3 separate regions of the Homo sapiens genome follow, and all the other regions are linked to region 2. Evidence: promoter capture Hi-C in 16 types of primary human blood cells and fetal thymus (Javierre and others, 2016). All regions are on one chromosome and are shown on one strand. Each heading gives the region's core, a stretch centred on a gene start or on the middle of the fragment in contact. The rest is flanking DNA. Distances are from core to core; before and after follow the strand shown. Region 1 holds the start of ZNF17 (zinc finger protein 17). Region 2 holds the start of ZNF235 (zinc finger protein 235). Region 3 holds the start of ZNF749 (zinc finger protein 749).

Region 1 (3,425 bases), core at 612-3,111, about 13 Mb before region 2:
TCTGTAATCCCAGCTACTCGGGAGGCTGAGGTAGGAGAATCGCTTGAACCCGGGAGGCAGAGGTTGCAGTGAGCCGAGACCACGCCACTGCACTCCAGCCTGGCGACAGAGCGAGACTCCGTCTCAAAAAAAAAAAGAAAAAAGAAAAATCAACATTCAACAATTATTAAGTGAATAAATTTAACTATTGGTTACATTCATTTCTAACTGCCGACCTATGTGTACATATTTAGAAGGATACTGGTTCATTAGTGGTTAAATAAATGTTTTATACATTCGGCCGGGCGCGGTGGCTCATGCCTGTAATCCCAGCACTTTGGGAGGCTGAGGCGTGCAGATCATGAGGTCAGGAGATAGAGACCATACTAGCTAACACGGTGAAACCCCGTCTCTACTAAAAATGCAAAAAATTAGCCTGGCGTGGTGGCGGGCACTTGTAGTCCCAGCTACTCGGGAGGCTGAGGCAGGAGAATTGCTTGAACTCGGGAGGCGGAGCTTGCAGTGAGCCGAGATCGCGCCACTGCACTCCAACCTGGGCGATGGAGCGAGACTCTGTCTCAAAAAAAAAAAAAATGTTTTACACATTCATAAATAAATAAGTTGCAGGGAGGGGATAAGCAAGCAGGTCAGTTACTGGTCCCATCAGCAACCAGGCCTGCCTGCTACAAATTCAGTTGCTGGAAGCTTGCTGGAGGCCCTTGACTAGATGTGAGAAAGCCCTACCCCCGTCTGGACCCAATGTCCCCACTAGTCTGGATGACCTTCCTATTGTTCCACAGAGTGGGCCTGGGGGGCTGCTGGGTCTGCAGGTGCAGAAATCTAAACCACCTCACACCTCAGTCTCCAGCCTAGGCCAGTTCCTTAACCCATTCAGAACTCCGTTTTTGCAGATATGAGCCAGAATCCCTCCTATGACAGGTCTGCGCCTTTCTAAAGGTAGCGTCAGGCTTATGGACCCACCCATGATCTGCCCTCCAAAACTCAGCCCTCCAAAATGCAACTCATAATCCTCTCTGAAACCTGCTCCCTAAGCTGACTTCTCCAACTCCATTCTTTCAGATTTTCAGGCCAAAACAAAATCCATGGAATAGACCCTTCACTACCCTCACTGCTACATTTGATGCAGCAGGAAATCCTGTCGACTCTATCTCTGAGATCCATCCAGAATCTCATCACACTTCCCCTCTACTGCAACCCCTCTGGCCCATCCCTACCATAACTCAAGGGGTCTCCTCAGCGGTCCCCTTGTCCTGGTTTAACATCCTGTTTTTCCCAACTTTAAACGTCTACCTCTGGGCATAACCCTTCCTGCACAGCCTTCTACGGCTTTCAGCAGCTCCGCTGCCCTCCCAGGCGAGACTCCGCCTCACCCTCAGCTCCGTGGAGACAAAGACGCTCGGGCTCCCCAGTGCCGCCCGCTCTGCAGCACCTCTAAGCCTCGCACGTGCAGGTCCCTGACAGGAGCTCCCCCGCCTCACAGCACCGCGGACACCGGTACCCCACACAAGAACGCTCCTCTCTTTGGGACACAGGGGCCTGACCTGCAGGGCCCCTCCTCGGGGCTTCGGCACTCGGAGGAGGGATCGGGCGGGGCGCCCTGGGACGCGGCACCCACCTCAGTCAGGTTCATCGGCGCAGCCTCCGCCAGCACAGCCAGGGAAGAGCGGGGCGGGAGCGGCAGTGACCTGGACGCTGACAGAGGCACCAACGCCTGCAACCGATTCAACCGAGCCTCACTCTAGCCTCTGTACAACGGGGAAACCTTTTCTCGCGTTTTTCCGCTTTTTCACCTCAGTCTCGACTCAGCCTGAAGGTGAACAGATCCCAACGCAGCCATATTGACAACCCCAGGAGGCGTTGCAGGAAGTCCCGCCCACACGCATTGCGAACCCCCGTAGACGCCGCTCTGCTAGGCCTTCATTGGCTACACTCGCTGCTTGTGTCCGCCGCTGTGTCTTTTGGGTAATGTAGTTCCCAGGCCACTGCCTGCCCCGCTTCTGAACTTAAGTTAACTCGCGTTCAGGATGAAAGCCAGGAGGATCCTCCTGAGGCTTTGAGAAATGCAGTTGCGGGGCTCCAAGGACGTGGAGGGGCTTCATTGGCTTTTAAACGGCAAGCATCCAGATTTTCCCGGAAGGCAGTCTAGAACAAGTCAGAGAAATGTTTCAGAGACCTGTCCTTTCAGATTCTGTAAAGCACAGCAAGTTCCCAAAAGACGAACATCCGAAGGAACATGGCCAACCATAAAGAACTGGTCTTCCACGCATAGCGGTCAGCTCTTTTGTGCTTGCCAAATACACACAGAACGAAGCTCTGGAGACTGTTTTATGATCTTCAATGTGCTCTGCTGGGCACATTGAAAAGACCCAGACATGGCATGATGGGGAGTTTGAGGAGTAATATCTTTCCTTTCTGAATAATCAGTTATTGTCTTTCAGCCTACCCAGCAACACTTTATTCACATGATACTTATTACTTTATATCTGAGATATTTTCCACTTATTTTAAGAGACTGAAACCTAACTGAAAAGGAAAAGCGACTTATCTACCATTATCTGCCAGAATAGTGTGGCCTTCCACCAGTCAAAGCCCTTGTGCAAAGAAAGCATCTTACTCCTGAGATAAAGGTTTGGGAATGCATGATCTCATCTCATTAGTGGAAAGTGATTTATCATTTCGCCTGAAATTGTATCAACAGTGTCTGCACAGGGAGTTGAAATTGTCTCTGAATAACTCTTGTGAAATGGCTATTACTGAAACTATTAATGACGATTATGTAGATATCCAAAGAAAGTGGCAAAAATAGTTATAGAGAAACATATTTGTGATAGGAGGAAAAAAGCTAAGGTTGTCCTGGAACCTTGGACACACTCAAGTTTGGTGTCCAAAATCTGATTCTTTTTCAAACTTGAAAACATTGTGCATTAACAGCTTGAAGGGAGAGGTAAAGACTATATATTAAAAGAGTTACCAGAAAAGTAAAGCTGAATAGGGAAACTGTGCTGTCGTATTTATTACTCTAACATATTTGATGAACACTCATTCGATGCCAGGTACAATACTAAGTGCATGGGACACATTAGGAGTAGGGTTGCTAGCTGTCTGTGGTCCTCTAAGACACGTAAGACGTATTTAATGAATTAGTCCTCAGTCCTGTATTGACCTTGTCAGGTCACTTTAAATGTCCTGTATTCCGCTTTTTACAATAAATTACAAAACCTCAGAAGTTAGAGCTATTTTTCTACCACTATAATTGTAAATTAAATCACTTAGCAGCTATGTTAGCTGAAAATCATACCCCCACAAATAAAGATATGGACATAGTCTTGTGATCTCTCCTGCAGAATTGGTGAGGGAAAAATAAAATGGAGCACTGAGATATTCAGTAAAGGAGAAGACTGTTTTTTGGCCAAAGTCTTGAAATT
Region 2 (3,547 bases), core at 923-3,422:
GGTCACCTGTATATTTATACCTGCCTAGGAGAAAAATCACGGCTTCTTTGTTTCATCTAGTTTATTCAACCATAAGACACTTAATTTCATTTATGTCAGGATCAGGATCAAAGTATGTAATGAAATATTTGAAGCCGAACACAAATTAGAAAACAATTCAAGATTTTACACATGCCCATATTACAACGTTGTCTTAGATTCCCGGCCAATGGAGCTGCTTTTGTTTGCCATAACAGTACACATTTAAAATAAATGAAGTTCAAGATATTTCTCTGGCTTAATATTTATATTGCCTTTTTGTGGGTTCTTAGTATATTAGAACGAATAGCACATTAAACAAAACACTGTCATGAGCCCTTAGGTACCTTGAGGAATAATGGAGGGAAAAGAGTCAAACACTTTACTCCCTTCTCTCCTTGTCACCGACCCCTAAATATACACAACTTGGACACTAAGGACTAAAACTCCATCCTCTTTCCCTGCCCCTCACTGATACGGAAGAGGGGAATGGAAGTGCTGGAGGGGAGAAGGGTGTGGTCCCTGACTAGGGCTCTACCCCCAGGCCTGTGGCCACGGACCTAGGTGAGGACAGGCATTCCTGCCTTTGTGCCCAAATATTGCATTTCCCAAGACCACCCTGGCCCACCACGCCCCCATCCTGTGCCTATAAAAACCCTGATACCCTAGCAGGCAGAGACACAAGCTGCTGGACGTTGAGAGGAGAGCATTGGCGGACACACAAACAGCTGGCTGTCGAGAGGCTGTCGAGGGGAGCGGGTCGGCAAAAGAGCACACTGAAGAGACCGGCAGGCCAGCAGGCCATTAACCGGTGGAATAACGCAGTTTGGCCTGGGTAGTCGGAGGAGCGCCCAGGCCGCTGAGAGGCTGACTCCAGGCGAAAACCATCTCCCTTCTGGCTCCCCCTTCTGCTGAGAGCTACTTACAAATCGTTCTCCAAGGTTTCTCCAATCCTTGCACTCTTTCTCCAAGCCTATGTGTGATGCGATTCTTCTGGTACACCAAGGCAAGAACCTCTGGGATACAGAAAGCCCTCTCTTGCTTGCGATAAGTCAGGGGTCTAATTGAGCTAACACAAGCCTCCTACAGATGGCTGAACTAAAAAAGCACCCTATAACACACGCCCACTGGGGCTTCAGGAGCTGTAAACATTCACCCCTAGACACTGCCGTGGGGTTGGAGCCCTACAACCTGCCCGTGTGCATGCTCCCCTAGAGGTTTGAGCGGCTGGGCACGAAGAAGCGAGCCACACCCCATCACATGCCCTGGGAGAGGGAGAAGTGAACTTTTCCCGTTTCATCACAATTTACTTTCGGCACTAACATGATTGTTCAGCTGTCTTCATCAGCAGGCCTTTATTCCAGGAGATTCCTGCCCAAGCAAACTGTTTAATTGTTCATTATGGGAACTTCCACAGAGACCCATCAAATTTTCAATCTCTTCCAAAGAAAGTGTCAATAGATTGCAATTTAAGATTCTTTGCTTCAAAAATCCTTGCTATATCCACCAATCCTGGACTGTAGTATCATGATCATTATGCAATACTAATAAAATCCCTTGCATTGAAAGACCCGCCTTAAACATCCAGTTCTCAATCAGTTCCAACCTTGCCTTGACACTTTGCTCTGTGAAGGTGCCAACGCTCCGTCGAAGTGTTGTTCTCCATTACTGCAATCAACAATAAATTCTGTTTTTTGTCTTATCAACAGGTTGAGTTGATGATATTTGGGGAGCCGGCATTTGACACAAGTTTGAGATCTGGTGTTCCTTAACGTTCAGCGTCCATCGGAGCTCAGCCTAAGTCACTTTTACGCTTCCCATTTTAGCCTACCCTCTGCTTCTGCGAAAAATTTTGGTTTCTAACTTATTTTAATAATACAAGCTGCACTTTTCATTTTTATATGTCATCACTTTAAAAATTTTACAATTATTTTCTCATGAGCTTTTAAAAATGAATAAAACAAAAACGAATCTCACAGTAGTAGCACCAGAGAAGTGGCTCAAACCCAACCGGCTTGAGTCAAAACAAAGCCCAGCTGGTGGGAAGCGCTGCCCTTGGAGCATTCTGGGAACTGTAGTCCAGGAGTGAGAGAACTCTGAGACGCTTCCGCTTAGGAATTCTGGGAAGTGGAGTCCACGAACCGTGGGCACTCGGAGGCACTTCCGCTCCAGGAAGGCGAGGTCGGATCTGAGATATCTCCCAGGGAGGTGAGTCAGCTCCGGGTCTCCAAGACTTCTCCGAGCCCTCTTTGCCTAGGCGTGGGGCCAGCAATGAACCCGTCCTTGGCTTGGGGAAGAGAAGCCGCGGCCAGCGCTGGAGGGCGGGGTTGGGAGGCTGCGGGAGTTTGCGTCCCCTCGGCAGAACCTCTTGCGTGGGAGGCGGGCTCGCGTCGTCCTTCGAGGTTGAGGGTCTGCTGCCCTAGCCGTCCTCACGCACCTACCAGCCAGTCCTGCCTGCTCCTCGCAGTAAAATATTGGGCAAGTTACTTAATCTCTCCTTGTCTCAGTTTCCTCGTGCCTGTAAAGGGTTAGTGCGTTCCCAGTGATGTTCTTGTGAGAATTAAATGAGGTTTTATAGAAATAAGCTTAAAACCAGTGCATAGGAAAATGTTGGATGCCACCGTTAATTCTGTTATAATACTGAAAAAGACGCCTGTTGTTTGGAAACTCCTCTGAGTCTAGGAGATCCAGCTACGGAGCCGCTGTCCCTTCTCTAATCCTTGCCTGATGTGGGGCCGTTCCTGGATTCTTGGACTTTTCTAGCCTCTTGTTTAGGAGACAGGAATTAGTTCCAGCGGAGCCTGGGGAATGTCCTGTGTGTTTTATCTCAGATAAGCGATCGTCATTACGGATTTGCAGAGTGCCAGAGGTGTCCTGAGGCCCTAATAAATGTTCAGTATAATGTGGTTATAACCAATAATCCCGTGTGGTTAACTTAAGTGTAACACCATTTCTTAGAGAGTTTTAGGTTTTTATTAGTCATTGCTTTCATGCATGTGGAAAAAGAGACTTTCTTGAGGCTCCTCCAGCTTAGTAACATTTGCAAGTAATTACATCTGTTGGAGGAAAAAAAAACCTGTGGCAGTTTAACTATCATTACCAACGGAACTAATTATGTTAGACAACCAATCACAGTTACAGACTTTTCTGAGGGTAATGGTAACTCACAGGACAGAGCAATTATTTTTGAGTTCTGGGTTTCTTAAAAGATTCATTTTCTAGAAAGCATACTCAAAAGGGCAGTTTTATGAAGCATAATAGCACTTGCTTGTCAGAAGCTGCAGGAAATAGAGAATACAGGCATTATTATTGTCCCCATTCACAGGTAACTGAATTAAGGCACAGAGAGATTAATAATTCGCTTAAGGTTTATACTGCTGATCAGTTGAAAATAGGTAGAAATGCCAAAATTTGAAGCCAGGCATTTTGGCTCTGTTACATTCCCCTGCCTGTCTGTGTCTCATTTCCTTGGAAACTAAAGTTCAGAAGGAGTACACAGAGAGCTGTATTTGATTTAGGTCTGTTAATA
Region 3 (3,443 bases), core at 365-2,864, about 13 Mb before region 2:
GTCCCAGATGGCTATCATCAACATGTGAACTTGAATAAACTCTCTTTAAACTAGATTCTGACTTGCTTGGTTATTTAAGATTGATATAGTTCCTTACTGTTTAAGTCAATTACCTGTTTTTACATCCCTAAGTTAATGAGTTGTAGGATGGGGCTGAGCAGTCAATCAGTTACTGGTCCGTTCAGCAAACAGGTCAGCCTGCCATATAATGCAGTAAAGGGAGCTTGCTGGAGGCCCTTAACTGTGGTGGAGGATGTGAGAAAGCCCTGCCCAGTTTTGGACCCAGTTGCTGCATGGCCTTATCTTGTTCCCTAAAGAGTGGCCCTCAGGGCCAGCTGAGTTAGAAGGGTGGAGTGACTACAATTATCTCATGCCTCAGTCTCTGTATTCCAGGGCAACTCCTTATCCATCCAGGCCTCTTTTTCAACAGAAACAGACCAGACTCTTAGCCCATATCTGCTCCCTTCTGCAGGGAGTATCAGAGATGCCCTCCCTACCATGGTCTTTCCTCCAAATCTGAGCCCTCCCCTACCTCAGCCCATATGAAAAAACGATGTAGGATTCTTCCTTCTCAATCTGATCCACAGGCCAACTTCTCAAGTGCACAACTTCTAACTCATTTAAAGCTCCAGGCCAGCTACCTTCCCTCACCTTTGGAAATTACGTCCACCTACCCATGTGATGTCGCCCAAAATCCAACCCAGGATCTTCTGTCTGAAACCCGCTCCTTAAGCTGATATCTCTAATTCCATTCTTTCAGATTTTTCAGGCCAAAACAAAACCTATGGAAGACACCATTCACTACCGACTTTCCCTCACAGCTATGTTTGATGCAGCAGGAAATCCTGTTGACCCTATCTCTGAGATCCATCCAGAGTCTCATCACATCTCCCCTCTACTGCAACCCCTCTGGCCCAGCCCTACCATAACTCAAGGGGTCTCCTCAGCGGTCCCCCTGCCCCCGTTCAACATCCTGTTTTCCCCAACTTTAAACTTCTAACTCTGGGCGTGACCCTCCCATTCGTCCTCCCTGCACAGCCCTCTATGGCTCTCTGCGGCTCCACTGCCCTTCCAGGGGAGACTCCGCCTCAACCTCTGCTCCTTGGAGACAAAGACGCTCGGGCTCCCCAGTGCCGCCCGTTCTGCAGTGCCTCCAAGCCCCAGAGACGTGTCGGTCTCCGACGGGAGCTCCCCCGCCTCATCGCACCGCAGTCCCAGTCCCGGGCACCCCACACAAGAACGCCCCTCTCTTAGAGACACAAGGGCCTAACCTGCAGGGCGGCTCCTTGGGACTTCAGCACTGGGAGGAGGGGTTGGGCGGGGCGGCCTGGGACGCTGCACGCACCTCGGTCAGGTTCATCGGCGCGGCCTCCTCCAGTCCACCCAGGGAAGAGCGGGGCGGGAACGGCGGTCACCTGGACGCTGACGGAGGCAGGGGCGCCTGCAGCCGACTCAGCCGATCCGCACTCTAGCCTCTGTGTAGAAGGAACACCGCTTCTCGCGTTTTTCCGCTCTTTCACCTCAGTCCCGACCCAGAGCTCTGGGACCCTCTAAATCAGTGAACAGATCCCTAGGTAGCCATGCTAACGCAACCATGAGGGCGCCGCCAGAAGTCCCGCCCACACAATTGAGACCTCATTAGTCGTCTCTCTGCTAGACCAATGGCTACACTCGCTGCCCTGCCCCCGCAGTGTCTTCTGGGTAATGTAGTTCTCACGTTGCTGCCTGTGTCGCCCGCAGTGTCTTCTGGGTAATGTAGTTCCCACGCTGCTGCCTGCCTCGCCTCACAATGCTGGGCGCGCGGACCTTACGGAAAAAAGCTGGAGGCTCCTGGAGGAGCGTTAAGAAATGCAGTTCCGGGGCTCTTAAGGACGTGGAGGGGCTTTGCTGACTCCTAAACTGCAAGTAACCAGATTTTCCCGGAGAGCAGTCTAGGACAAGTCTGAGAAATATTTCAGAGACCTGTCGTTTCAGATTCTCTGAAGCACAGCAAGTCCCGAAAGGAAGAACATCAGAAGCGACATGGCTGACCATAATGAACTGGTCCTCCATTCATAGCGGTCAGCTCTTTTGTGCTTGTCAAGTACACACATACTGAGGCTCTGGAGACTTTTTTTTGATCGTTAGTGTGCTTCTGTTGGGACAAGAAAGAAAAGACCCACACAGGATGTGATGGAGAGTTGAAGGAGGAATATCTTTCTGTCGACGAAAAGGGTGGAACTTTGTGAAATAGTTGAAGAGATTTATTCTGAGACAAATATGAGTGACTAATGGCCCATGACACGGCTCCAAGATATCCTAAGAACATATGCCCAGGGTGGCCCATCTACAGCTTGGTTTTAACAATTTAGGAAGACGTAAGACATCAATCAATACATGTAAAATGTACATTGGATTCCTCTGGAAAGGCGCAACTGGAAGGGAGGGGCGGGGCTTCCAGGTCAGGTGGGTTCAAAGATTTTCCGATTGGCAATTGGTTGAAAGAGTTTGTATCTAAAGACCTGGAATCAGTAGAAATGGTTGTCTGGGTTAAGGGGTTGTGGGCCGGGCGTGGTATCTCACGCCTGTAATCCCAGCACTTTGGGAGGCCGAGGTGGGCGGATCACCTGAGGTTGGGAGTTCGAGACCAGCCTGACCAACATGTAGAAACCCCATCTCTACTAAAAATACAAAATTAGACGGGCATGGTGGCACATGCCTGTAATGCCAGCTACTCGGGAGGCTGAGGCAGGAGAATCGCTTGAACCCGGGAGGCGGAGGTTACGGTGAGCCGAGATCTCGCCATTGTACTCCAGCCCGTGCAACAAGAGCGAAACTCCGTCTCAAAAACAAAAAAAGACAAGGGGTTGTGAAGACCAAGGTTATATCATGCAGATGAAGCCTCCAGGTAGTCTTATAAGGCCTTATGATAAGGCCTCAGCTCCTGAGCTAAAGCTATCTTCCCACCTCAGCCTCTAGAGCAGCTGGGACTGTAGGTACAGGACACCGTCCCTGGCTTTATTCAGCTTTTTACAATGCACTACAAAAAGTCGGCATTTAGAGCTATTTTTCTCTCACTGCAATTGAGTAGCAGTGAGAGAAAAATTGAGTAGCAATAGTATTGCCATCAGGTGGTGGCAATACTACCTGAAAACCATGCCCCCAACAAATGAAGATTTGGATAATGCCTTATGGTCTCTTCTGCAGGATTAGTGAAGGAAGAACAAAGAAAAGACCAAAAATTAAAACCCATTCTCTTTATATTCAGAAAAGGAAAGGGCTATTTTTTGGCCAAAGCGTTACAATTTAGTTTGCCAACCAGTTTAAAAAAAAAAAAAAAAGGAAAAATTAACTCTGCCCAACTGAAGGTCTGGCAAAAACAAACCTTTGAAAGGGTTGTGGGAAATTAATGAATATTAAACTAATTTTCAACATAACCAGTTAAAAATAAGAAATCCCACTAA

What was found. Contacts are between HindIII fragments. The CHiCAGO score rates a contact against its expected background, and 5 or more counts as called.
Region 1: a contact is called between the fragment with the promoter of ZNF17 here and the fragment with the promoter of ZNF235 in region 2, in 2 of 17 cell types (total CD4 T cells and total CD8 T cells). The highest score is 10.5, in total CD4 T cells.
Region 3: a contact is called between the fragment with the promoter of ZNF749 here and the fragment with the promoter of ZNF235 in region 2, in 5 of 17 cell types (non-activated CD4 T cells, total CD4 T cells, activated CD4 T cells and 2 more). The highest score is 27.2, in non-activated CD4 T cells.

The regions. Positions count from the first base shown.
Region 1 is chr19:57,409,597-57,413,021 of GRCh38, reverse strand. ZNF17 (zinc finger protein 17) reads right to left here and starts at 1,861. Exons shown (of 4, transcript NM_001330617.2): 1 at 1,616-1,861. RefSeq lists a silencer at 1,162-1,364 and enhancers at 1,608-1,667, 1,748-1,857. The HindIII fragment of the contact is 5,033 bases long and covers 687-3,425 here.
Region 2 is chr19:44,303,650-44,307,196 of GRCh38, reverse strand. ZNF235 (zinc finger protein 235) reads left to right here and starts at 2,172. Exons shown (of 5, transcript NM_004234.4): 1 at 2,172-2,226. RefSeq lists enhancers at 258-757, 758-1,259, 1,836-2,389. The HindIII fragment of the contact is 5,796 bases long and covers 1-2,605 here.
Region 3 is chr19:57,433,496-57,436,938 of GRCh38, reverse strand. It overlaps ZNF749 (zinc finger protein 749), which reads right to left and starts at 1,614. Exons shown (of 3, transcript NM_001023561.4): 1 at 1,346-1,614. The coding sequence starts at 1,360. RefSeq lists enhancers at 1,050-1,099, 1,730-2,029. The HindIII fragment of the contact is 4,352 bases long and covers 1-3,443 here.